2 separate regions of the Homo sapiens genome follow, and region 1 is linked to region 2. Evidence: promoter capture Hi-C in 16 types of primary human blood cells and fetal thymus (Javierre and others, 2016). All regions are on one chromosome and are shown on one strand. Each heading gives the region's core, a stretch centred on a gene start or on the middle of the fragment in contact. The rest is flanking DNA. Distances are from core to core; before and after follow the strand shown.

Region 1 (5,578 bases), core at 1,818-4,317, 510 kb after region 2:
CAAATTCTCATGATGCCCAGATTCTGGAAAGTATCTTGAGGGCTGGGAGAATACTGCTTCCTGATATCTCCATCCCCATCAAAGTTCAAAAGCACAAGTCAAAAATATCCTTCTTAGAACCTTTGGGATGGTTGTTTCAGTGACTTTGGAAAGTAACATTCTCTCTCTCTCTCTTCTCTCTCTCTCTTTCTCTCACATTACTGTTTCTTAAATTACATTGGTGTTACTTGCTTCAAGGAAAGTTTATTCAAATAATTGACATCTGGCTGGAGCCACACTATGGCCTTTTCTTTGGAATGAAGATTTTCGTAGCAGCTGATGCTAGAGACCAAGTCCCATGCTTGAGGTGTGAGCTCCCTTTTGGGCAGCTCCTGACTACACCAGCAATGTTAATTAAGTTTCTTAATCAAATCCTCAGCTCTAACGGTGTGCTTTTGCTCTGTGTGCTTTGTCTAGTTAAAATACTTCTAAAAGCAAATACCTGATTTCTAAATGAAACATACAAAACAATTGACCTCAGCCAGAGCAAAAATGCTTTTCAAAATCTTTGTATCACACTTTAATGAAGGAGAATTTGTTCCTACAAACATATTACCCTTTCTGAGGACCAAACCCATGCCCGGAAGCTCATTTCAATGCAAAAATGATTTCTGGAAGCATTCAAAATGCCAAAGCATGGTATCTCATTCCTGACCGAGACAGGACAATTTGGGGTTGGGGGAACAGGTTCCAGAATAATGACTAAATGGGCACAAATTCCAGTTCAACCACTTATTACTTACAGGGCTTTGAAGTGCGATTAAACTTCTTGGTGCATCAATATTCTCTGTACGGATGCACAGAGGGAATCATGATACTACCTTATAAAGGCCTGGTGAAAATTGGCATAATTCATATAAGATGTTTGTTCCAGTGAACACCCCCAAATGGTTAGTTTTGTTGTTGTTTTTATTGTATAACCCCTACTCTTATTAACTGCCTTACTTACATGTATTCAATCCAAACTGGCAATTATGTATCTGCAAATGAATGTGAATTATCATATCAAATAACAGAGATTCTTTCTAGTGTGTGTGTATTTGTTTTTAATAAGGACAATAATATTTTAGAAAAAAACTCTAGCTCTTTCTAATCTCCATAGCAGCCGTAATTCTTTAGGTGGTTTCAGTTTTTCTGTTTCCAAAATGTAGAGAAAATTCTCCATTTCTATTGATCTCACAGAGATGATGTGAGCACCGCTGAGATGGATGAATTTTGAGTTGTTTGTATACCTTTTTAATAGTCCCAAGTACTATTTTGTTTAGACTCAGGCATTTCTGAGGGTATTATTTTAGAACAGTAATCTTTGAGGTATTATTTTGTCTCCAAAGGATGCTACACTTTCTTTCTTTTGAAATGCTCTGTTTATAAAATTCACCAAATATTAATTCACGTTGTTATTATCAATAGTCATTTTACTAATTACCGCATGGCTTGGTATTTATTTTGCCAATGATCTACTATGTCATTAGTTCTTCCCCTAAAATAAAGATTTGTTCTACTACAGTATAAAGAGGATTTAACTCAGCAGCAAGGGGTCGGCAATCCCAACTGTGGCAAAAACAAGGTTGGAACCAGAATCCTTCAGTCTTGTTTTTCTATAAGCTTCAATAGATAATGTGAAGGATGAATAACAGTGAGATGAAGGATATTTCTGACCTTTCTTTCATGCTTTATAAAAATAAAATTTATCTCTGTCATTTATGCTTTCTTTGTTCTTCCTGAGATTTCATTATTTTACACAACTCATCGTATACAATTTTTTGTCCAATGACCTTATTTTAGAGTTCTCCTATTTTTATTCTGTGGGATAAAAATTAAATGGCAAATTCCTTTTTGTGTTGTCAAGAAGAGCTCATTTTCTCATTTTCTCTGTAATTTTTTTTCAGTTTGCTGATTTTATGTCCTCTGATTCTGGTTCTGTTAACTTTTTTCTCTTCAATTTTTATTTGTAGTTCAGGGGTACATGTGCAGGAGGTGCAGGGCTGTTACGCAGGTAAACATGTACAATGGTGGTTTGCTGCACAGATCATCCAATCACCTAGGCATTAAGTCCAGCATCCATTAGCTATTCTTCCTGATGCTCTCCCTCTCTCAACCCCCCAACAGGCCCCAGTGTATGTTGCTCCCTGCAATGCGTCAATGTGCTCTCATCATTCAACTCCTACTTATAAGTGAGAACATGTCTTGTTTTGTTTTCTGTTCCTGCATTAGTTTGTTGAGAATAACAGCTTCCAACTACATCCATGTCCTCACAAAGGACATCATCCTGTTATTTTTTATGGCTGCATAGTATTCCATTGTGTATATGTACATTCAAATGTGTACACATACATTTTCTGTATACTGTCTATCATTGATAGGCACTTAGGTTGAGTCCATGTCTTTGCTATTGTAAATAGTGTTGCAATAAACATATACGTGCATGTATCTTTATAATAGAATGATTTATATTCCTTTGGGTAGATACACAGTAATGGGATTACTGGGTCAAATGGTCAAATTTCTGCCTCTAGGTCTTTGAGGAACTGCCACACTGTCTTCCACAATGGTTGAACTAATTTACAGTCCCAACAACAGTGTAAAAGCATTTCTTTTTTTCCATACCTTCACCAGCATCTGTTGTTTCTTGACTTTTTAATAGGCATTCTGACTGGTGTGAGATGATATCTCATTATGGTTTTTATTTGCATTTCTCTAATGATCAATGATGTTGAGCTTTTTTGATGTTTGCTGGTCACATGTATGTCATCTTTTGAGAAGTGTCTGTTTAGAACCTTTGCCCACTTTTTAATGGGGTTGTTTTTTTCTTGTGAATTTGTTTAAATTTCTTATAGGCTGGATATTAGACCTTTGTCAGATGGAAAAAATTTCTCTTATTCTGTAGGTTGTCTGTTCACTCTGATGGAGTTTCTTTTGCTGTGCAGAAGCTCTTTAGTTTAATTATATCCCATTTTTCAATGTTTGCTTTTGTTGCAGTTGCTTTTGTCATTTTCTTAATGAAATCTTTGCCCTTTCCTATGTCTGGAATGGTATTGCCTAGGTTATTTTCCTGGATTTTTACAGCTTTGGGTTTTACATTTAGGTCTTTAATCTATCTTGAGTTATTTTTTGTATATGTATAAGAAATGTGTTTACTTTTAATTTTCTGCATGTGGCTAGCCAGCACTCCCAGCACCATTTATTAAAAATGATGCCTTTTCCCAGGAGAATGGCATGAACCCGGGAGGCGGAGCTTGCAGTGAGCCAAGATCACGCCACTGCACTCCAGCCTGGGCGATAGAGCGAGACTCCATCTCAAAAAAAAAAAAAAAAAAAAAAAAAAAATGATGCGTTTTCCTCATTGCTTGTTGTTGTCAGGTTTGTCAAAGATAAGATGGTTGTAGGTGTGTGGTCTTATTTCTGAGTTCTCTATTCTGTTCCATTGGTCTATGGGTCTGTTCTTGTACTAGTACCATGCTGTTTTTGTTACTGTAACTTTGTAGTATAGTTTGAAGTCAGGTAGTGTGATGCCTCCAGCTTTGTTCTTTTTACTTAGGATTGACTTAGCTATTAAGGCTCTTTTTTGGTTCCATATGAATTTTAAAACAGTTTTTTCTAATTCTGTGAAGAATGCCAATGGTAGTTTAATGGGAATAGCATTGAATCTACAAATTACTTTGGGCAGTATGGCCATTTTAATAATATTGATTCTTCCTATCCATGAGCATGGCATGTTTCTCTATTTGTTTGTGTCCACTCAGATTTCTTTGAGCAGTGGTTTGTAGTCCTCCTTGAAGAGGTCCTTCACTTCCCTTGTTAGCTGTATTCCTAGGTATTTTATTCTTTTTGTAGCAATTGTGAATGGGAGTTCATTCATGATTTGGCTCTCTGCTTGTGTGTTGTTGGTGTATAGGAATGCTAGAAATTTTTTTTCACATTGATTTTATATCCTAAGACTTTGCTGAAGTTGCTTATCAGCTTAAGTAGTTTCTGGGCTGAGAGGATAGGGTTTTCTAGATACAGGATCATGTCATCTGCAAACAATGATAATTTGACTTCCTGTCTTCCTATTTGAATTCTCTTTATTTCTTCCTCTTACCTGATTGCCCTGGCCAGAACTTCCAATACTATGTTGAATAGGAGTGGGGAGAAAGGGCATTCTTGTCTTGTGCTAGTTTTCAAGGGGAATGCTTCCAGCTTTTGCCCATTCAGCATCATATTGGCTGTGGGCTTGTCATTTATGGCTTTTATTATTTTGAGGTATGTTCCTTTAATAGCTAGTTTATTGAGAGTTTTTAGCATGAAGGGATGTTGAATTTTATCAAAGGCCTTTTCTATGTATATTAAAATAATCATGTGGTTTTTGTCTTTAGTTCTGTTTATGTAATGAATCACATTTATTGATTTTTGTAGCTTGAACCAACCTTGCCTCCCAAGGATGAGGCCAACTTGATCATGGATAAGCTTTTTGATGTGCTACTGGATTCGGTTTGCCAGTATTTTATTGAGGATTTTGGCATTGATGTTCATCAGGGATATTGGCCTGAAGTTTACTTTTTTTGTTGTATCTCTGCCATGTTTTGGTATCAGGATGATGCTGGCCTCATAAAACAAGTTAGGGAAGAGTCCCTTCTATTCATTTTTTTTTGAATAGTTTCAGTAGAAATAGAACCAGCTGTTCTTTGTACATCTGGTAGAATTCAGCTGTAAATCTGTCTGGTTCTGGGCTCTTTTTGGTTGGTAGGCTATCTATTACTGCCTCAATTTCAGAACTTGTTATTGGTTTATTCAAGAATTCAATTTCTTACTGGTTCACCTTACTGGGAGGGTGTATGCATCCAGGAATTTTTCAATTTCTTCTAGATTTTCTAGTTTATGTGCATAGAGGTGTTTACAATATTCTCTGATGGCTGTTTGCATTTCTGTGAGGTCATTGGTAATATCCTCTTTATCATTTTTTATTATGTCTATTTGATTTTTCCCTCTTTTCTTCTTTATTAGTCAAACTATGAGTCTATCTATTTTATAATTTTTTTCGACAACCAGCTCATAGATTTGTTGATTTTTTGAAGGGTTTTTCGTGTCTCTATCTCCTTCAGTTCTGCTCTAATCTTGGTTATTTCTTGCCTTCTACTAGCTTTTGGGTTTGTTAGCTCCTGGTTCTCCAGTTCTTTTAGTTGGGTTGTTAGGTTGTTAATTTGACATCTTTCTGGCTTATTTGTGTAAGCATTTAGTGCTATAAATTTCCCTCTTAACACTGCTTTAGCTGCATTCCAGAGATTCTGGTATGTTGTTTCTTCATTCTCATTAGTTTCAAAGAACTTCTTGATTTCTGCCTTAATTTCATTATTTACCCAGGAGTCATGCAGGTTGCTCAGTTTACATGTAGTTGTGTGGTTTTGAGTGGATTTCTCAGTCTTGAGTTCTAATTTGATTGTGGGGTGGTCTATGAAACTTTTTGTTATTATTTCAGTTCTTTTGCATTTGCTGAGGAATGTTTTACTTCCGATTATGTGATCAATTTTAGAATAAGTGTCGTGAGAAGAATGTATACTCT
Region 2 (6,001 bases), core at 1,769-4,268:
ATGGAGGAAATTGAGTTCATTTCATGTATTTCCCTTATCTTACAAATAATGTATATAGCAGTTGTACATCTTACCTTTGTGGAAGCCAGTGAAATAAAAGATTCAACTCGAAGTTCGGAAATTCCTGAAGACTGCTTCTGAGCAGCCATCTGAGAATATGAATAGCGTGATGTATAAAACGTCCAGGCTGACAATCAAACAACTGATTTACTTCGTGGTGAGCCAAATGTCATTTTTTACATGAAGTCTCAGAATAAAAAATTAGATAAAAAGTAAAATGAATATTGTGATCTTAGCAACATTCTCCTTTAAGGGGATGGGAGGAATGGGAGGAACAGAATAAAACTTTACGAAGACCTTTTTAGTTAGAAATGAGTCAGTTGGTTGGATCTTTAATCTTAAACTTTGGGCAAATTTGAGTCTCACTTCAGACCGAACTAGGCAAAACAAAACTGGTATCTGAGCTTCATTTTTCTGTAAAAATGTTACGGGGATGTTAGGAAGTTAACTGTTCATTAATTAAATAATGAACATAATTTATGGGGCTCTTACTACCTTGAGCTAAACACCATGGAGTGTAATAATGACTGAACCTCAGTTGCTGCCTTTAAAGAGTGTAGGAGACTGACACGCATATTCAAATATGTACTAGGAGTGTGCTCTTGAGCTGAGCAGAAAAGTGGCAACTTGCAGGGGTGGGGTGACAGCTTCTGTGAGGGAAATTCTTTGTGTACTGCAAATGTCCATGTGAGGAAAAGACTGAGAAACACACTCTATATTCTGCCTAGATTGTCAGCTTGACCTTCCCTTGTGTCTTCTGTGACCTCCTGAGATCCTTTCACCTCCATTCTATCCTGGATCCTTTGCATCTCTTCCAGCATGAGGACCTCCCATTGATCTGTTTTCTGTAGTTCCATGACTGTTGGCCATGCAAGACAATTAATTAAAGTATGGGATACTTTACTAGGTCTTAACTGCATTTTGAAATCTTGGGGACTGAAGTCCCAGAACGACAAGAACATAAAATCACTGTGACTCTACCTCCTCATCTCCTCCCCTTCTCTGTCCTCGACTTACACTTCCATTGTTCTCAGAGGACTTCCCTTCCACTACTTCCTCCTGTACCACCGTCCCTTTTCCTTTCAGGGCTATTTCTCCTTTTTGTGCTCCACTTATCTCTGCTTCTTGATCTCTGGGGTGGTAAATGTTAGTCTTTTGGGGCAATTGATTTGGCATTTTAAATGAAAGTAGTGGGGAGAGGGGAAAAGATTCCACAGTGAAATTGTCTTAATGTAAGATTCAAACCACAACTGCAGAGAACATCTGTTTTGAAGTTTGATGTTGTCTTTGTAACCCAAGAGAAAAGCAGAGTAAGATCAGAGGAAGGCCTTAGCCTTCCACCAGGATGAAACCACCTGCAGCCTTGGACAGTGGGTGAAATCCTGTAGCCCTGGGATGCAGAGCTTCTAGGAGACTGGCTGTCCTCTTCTCTCATATTATTAAAGGATGTTGGTTCTCTTGCCATCTGTGCTATTGCCATTATCCCTCTACCTCCTCAAGAGTCCAATTCAGGACAATTTAAATTGGAATCCCAATTACATGATCCCCAAAGGCTCACAGAGTAGCCTGCATTCTGCATTTGCAGCAATTCCAGGCAACATGCTCAGCCTGCTTCAGGGAAGCACACAACACTGAGTGTGGATGAGACCTCAGAACCCTCTAACCTTGGGCAGCTCCTTACCTCTTCCTGTCTGAGCCATGTTTGATTTGCTGCAAGAGGAATACGTGTCTAAACTGCTGGATTTTAAAATGTCGCTTGGTCTGTGGATTAGGCCAATCCACCCCACATTGTTGGGGCTGCAGATGCAGTTGAATGGTTCATAATTATAGTCTAAAGAAACTGCAGACAGCAATAGAGCCAACCCAGGCCCTTTCTCTCCTGACAGCCCATGCCAAGCTGTCTCCCACAGGGAACCATAGTGTGGTTATCCTGCAATGTATTTGCCCAAAGACAATACATCCAGTGTAGAGAAGTTGGATTTCTAGAAATTGAGTCTGCTCATCTATCTACTCCCATGTCCATTGTATCCTGTCTTGTGTCTCAAGGGTGTCTGGTACTTCTCCTGCCAAAGTGAAATGCAAAGTAAATGCAAGGAGATGCCAGGGAGAGAACTGCTATCAGGGCATCTGGTTCTAGTACTGACACTGACTTTTTTAGATTGTGTGGCCCTGGAAATAATAATTTCCTCACTCACACTCATTTTTCACCTCTGGTAAATAGGAGTGCTGGACTTGGAGAGCACTGATAAACTCCCATTGAGCTCTAACATGTGACAAATCCAAGACCTAAGGTTTTGTCTCCAAAGAGGCACTACAAATGTGATCTTCTTTCAGAATTTAAACTGTCACTTTTCTGTGACTCAAAACAAATATAAATCTAGTTCTCTTCTCCAATCAGGTAGTTCTCGAATTTCTCAAGTGAGGCTGATGCTGGGCAGGTTGCCAGTTTAAGAACTGAGGAAGGGTCTTGAAGAGATTTTTAAATGAAATGTGGTGATAGTTGTTCTATCTCTCGCTGGAGATCGTTCAGGAAAATTGAGCATCCAAGCTATTCTGCAAAGAGATGGCTGTAGACAGACATTTAATGTGATTTCCCACATATTCTACCGTATACTAGATCTTAATAACAATAATCAAATACTAATTCTCACCTAGACACTGTGCTAAATTCTTTGCATACATTATCTCATTTAATCATTCAAATAGCCTTAAAAGGTGTGTGCTGCTATTATCCCTAGTTGAAACATGGAGGAACTGAGGTTCGGGATTGTTTAAATGACTTACCTGTGGCAATTCAGCTGGCTAGTTGGTAGAGTAAGAATTTGAACCTGAGTCTTATTCCAAAGCCCACACTACTATCCTCTTTGTTTTCTTATATTGAGCTTTCCAGGGCAAACAGGCTCCCAAGTCCTCCCCTCTCCCCCAACCCCACCCCACCCTCCCTTCTTCCCTCCTGACTGCAGCTCCTCCTACCCTCATTGTTTATTGTGCCTTCTAAACAATAGCCAATGAGTCTGTGTTCCATTCTAGGGAGAGCTAGGGCTGATTTTATTCCCTGAAACAGAGATGAGGTTGTGACACAAAAAGGTTAAGTGGCTTTGGTGAGGTCACAGAGCCAGCCTGCAGTCAGCAACAGTACCATCTGAGTCCCCTGGCTTGGGTCCCTTAACTGACCCTAAGGCTTTTTGGCATCCAAGTTTAATTAAGAGAGTTATTTTAATTTTCCTTCCTATCTCTAATTTTCCATTTTATTGCTGCTTGATAATGTAGATATTGAAGTGCCAGGCATTTTTCTTCCCTAGTGTGACTTTTAATGACTAAACTTCTCACATAGAAACCACTTGCCTTAGAAGTAAGCTTTCAAAGCTTGTTTCTGTGTATGACAGAGACTGTTGCCTTTTCTCAGAGAAAAATGAGACCACAAATGCAGCTCAGACAGGTTGTTGTTAATTGAGGGCTTTTTTTTTTTTTTTTTTTTTTCTAAATCTTACATTTATACCAGTAAATCAACATCTGTGAGTCATAAACTGGTTCTGGATCAGCCGTTAGTGGTCTGAATGTTTTTGTACCTACCTTCAGTAAAGCATATTTTAGCTCAAAACTCAGAGATTCTTTGTTTTGTTGAAGTTCAAGACTCAGGAGTAGATAACATGCTAGGACACTTCTGGAGAGGGAAAGTCTGTCTTCCATGATTGTTCAACATTAAGTGTATATTTATATTTCTTTTTTATTGAAGTTGGGGTGGAGTTGAGGGAGGAGTATAAATAAAAAAGAAAGTATGCTTTTTACATACTCCATGTGCTTGAGGAATTCCTGTATGAAGGTGACTATTTTCTTAATATTATTGTCTAGCTCCACTCTTCTGTTCCCCAACTCCTGCGGACTTTTCTTGGCCCTTATTGACTTCACGTTCCTAGTGTAAGGCAATTCAGCACTTGGTAGGATATAATTAGCCGAAGTCTAAGGAATGCTTAAAAATACAATTCTGTTTTTTCCCAAATGCAGGAGGAACAGACTGCTGCAGTACAAGCACAAGCACAGAAGTATTTATTTGATTGATTTTTTTTTTTCCTGAGTGCCTTAAAAACCAGATATGGTATTGAAGTATCTTGCCCAAGTGGATGAAAGGCAACGCTTGGCTGCTGTTGTTTGGCTGGTGGGGACACTGAGGCATACATGTAACCGAGTGGACGTGAGTGCTGGGGATAGAGGTTCTGCTCTACTATGAAGGGAAAAGGGCACAGCCTCTGACACTTTTTAGTTCATCTTCACAAGCCAGAGCATATCAAACTCACTTAATCATTGAATTAGGAAGCCCATAGTGACCAAAAAGTTGATAGTTCATCATTCAACACATATTTATTGAGCTCTGTAATGTCTTAGGCACTAGGCTAGGCATCAATGTTTTAGCGTATGATAACATAGAAATATCATTTAAAGTCCATATGAACATTTAGAAAAATCTACTTGTGTCCTAAAGAGAATGAATAAAAATTTCATTTATCAACATTGATTAGATTAATGAAACATGACCCTGGCAGACCTGATCAGATTATTATATCTTAAATATGTAAAAAATATTTTAACATGACCTTATTAGTGCTCTTCATCCAAATCCAGGGTTCGATGCATAACTTCTGATGGCATAAATATTCATAATTAATATCATCTGGAGGTAACTTTCCTGGCAGCCTGTGGTGGCGCCTGGCTATCTCTCCAAACTGCTGCTTTACGCAACCCTATTCCTTGATTTGGACATTCACTCATTTTGTTTCTGTGCTTCAGGACTGGATTAGGAAACGGATGATTGACTATCTGAGTTGTCACTATGGAAGAATTAGAAAGAATAATTTTCCTCATTGCTAGAGTGGAAAGTGTTTACAGTTTAATCATGGTGGGCTTTTTTAGTATCTAATTTGGGTGGATGTTAGCAGCAGTGTTTAGGCTAGTCTGGGGAAGAAAGTTGAGGAGCAAACTGGGGAAGAGAGAAAGGAGTTGCTCTGAGGAATCTGCATTTGAAAATAGAGAAGTACTCACACTTGGATTAAAAAATGCCAACATTTTCTCAATACAACATCAACAAAACAAAATTCCCCAAAGCAACTCTAGATTTGTTCACTTCTTCTCCTGATGAATTCATAGTGAGTAAGGCAGAATTGATTCAAGAACCTTTTTTTTTTTGTGGTTCATTTGGACGTGTAAATGTACAATTCATTCATCAGCTGTTTCTCTAGGCTTTTCCCAGGACCAGAAGGGTCTGTTCTTGTCATCTGGAGGCCAGCATTGTTTTCTCATACCTTGTGGAAACACAGCTGGATTGCAACAGTCTTTGTTCTTTCAAAAATTAGGACTATCACATACAAATATTTTCCTCTGGTCACTAAGGAGGGATTTAATCTGGAGTTTAGACCAGGAGCCACAGATTTTTCTGTTCCTGGCTTCCTCCCCGATTTGCTGTGGGAAATCTGCAAATTACTAAGGCTTCAAGGGCACAAAACTGGGATTAGATGAAGGTAAGCCTGTGTGTCAAAACTTACCAGAGGCAGAGGTTACAGTTACAGTCAAATGCTGGGAGTTCAAATGTGCTTAGAAATCAGGAAACATTAAAAATAGCTTTCTCTGAGATTGCTCAGGAAGATTTATGTTTAATCTTTCTGTTAATCAAAGATGGAGCTCAGTGCCTGGTTCTAGCTATGTATTTAGATATATACATGTACTGGTTGATTTGTTAATTAGGACAAACTATCTCTATTACAACCAATGTATTAGTGGCAAACCATGAATTATTCGGGTTCATTTTGTTTTATCTCTAGTGTTGGGGGTTCCCAAATGGAACAGAAACTGTGCATTGTGATTCTGTCATGGCTGCCAATGATGTACTCCAGAAATTCAAAACCACAGAGCCTCTGCATCACTTTTTTGGTGGCGGTCGTGGGAGGGT

The links. Contacts are between HindIII fragments. The CHiCAGO score rates a contact against its expected background, and 5 or more counts as called.
Region 1: a fragment that was not itself captured here is called in contact with the fragment with the promoter of ETS1-AS1 in region 2 in 1 of 17 cell types (total CD8 T cells); the score reaches 5.7 in total CD8 T cells.

The regions. Positions count from the first base shown.
Region 1 is chr11:128,009,163-128,014,740 of GRCh38, reverse strand. No RefSeq gene overlaps it. Among named protein-coding and RNA genes, the nearest start is that of LINC02725, 84 kb to the left of the region's middle. The HindIII fragment of the contact is 2,841 bases long and covers 1,647-4,487 here.
Region 2 is chr11:128,523,159-128,529,159 of GRCh38, reverse strand. It overlaps ETS1-AS1 (ETS1 antisense RNA 1), which reads right to left and starts at 3,018. Exons shown (of 4, transcript NR_120581.1): 1 at 2,845-3,018; 2 at 1,742-2,627; 3 at 75-149. All of the region lies in intron 3 of ETS1 (ETS proto-oncogene 1, transcription factor), which reads left to right. RefSeq lists a cis regulatory region at 5,692-6,001. The HindIII fragment of the contact is 5,425 bases long and covers 1-3,419 here.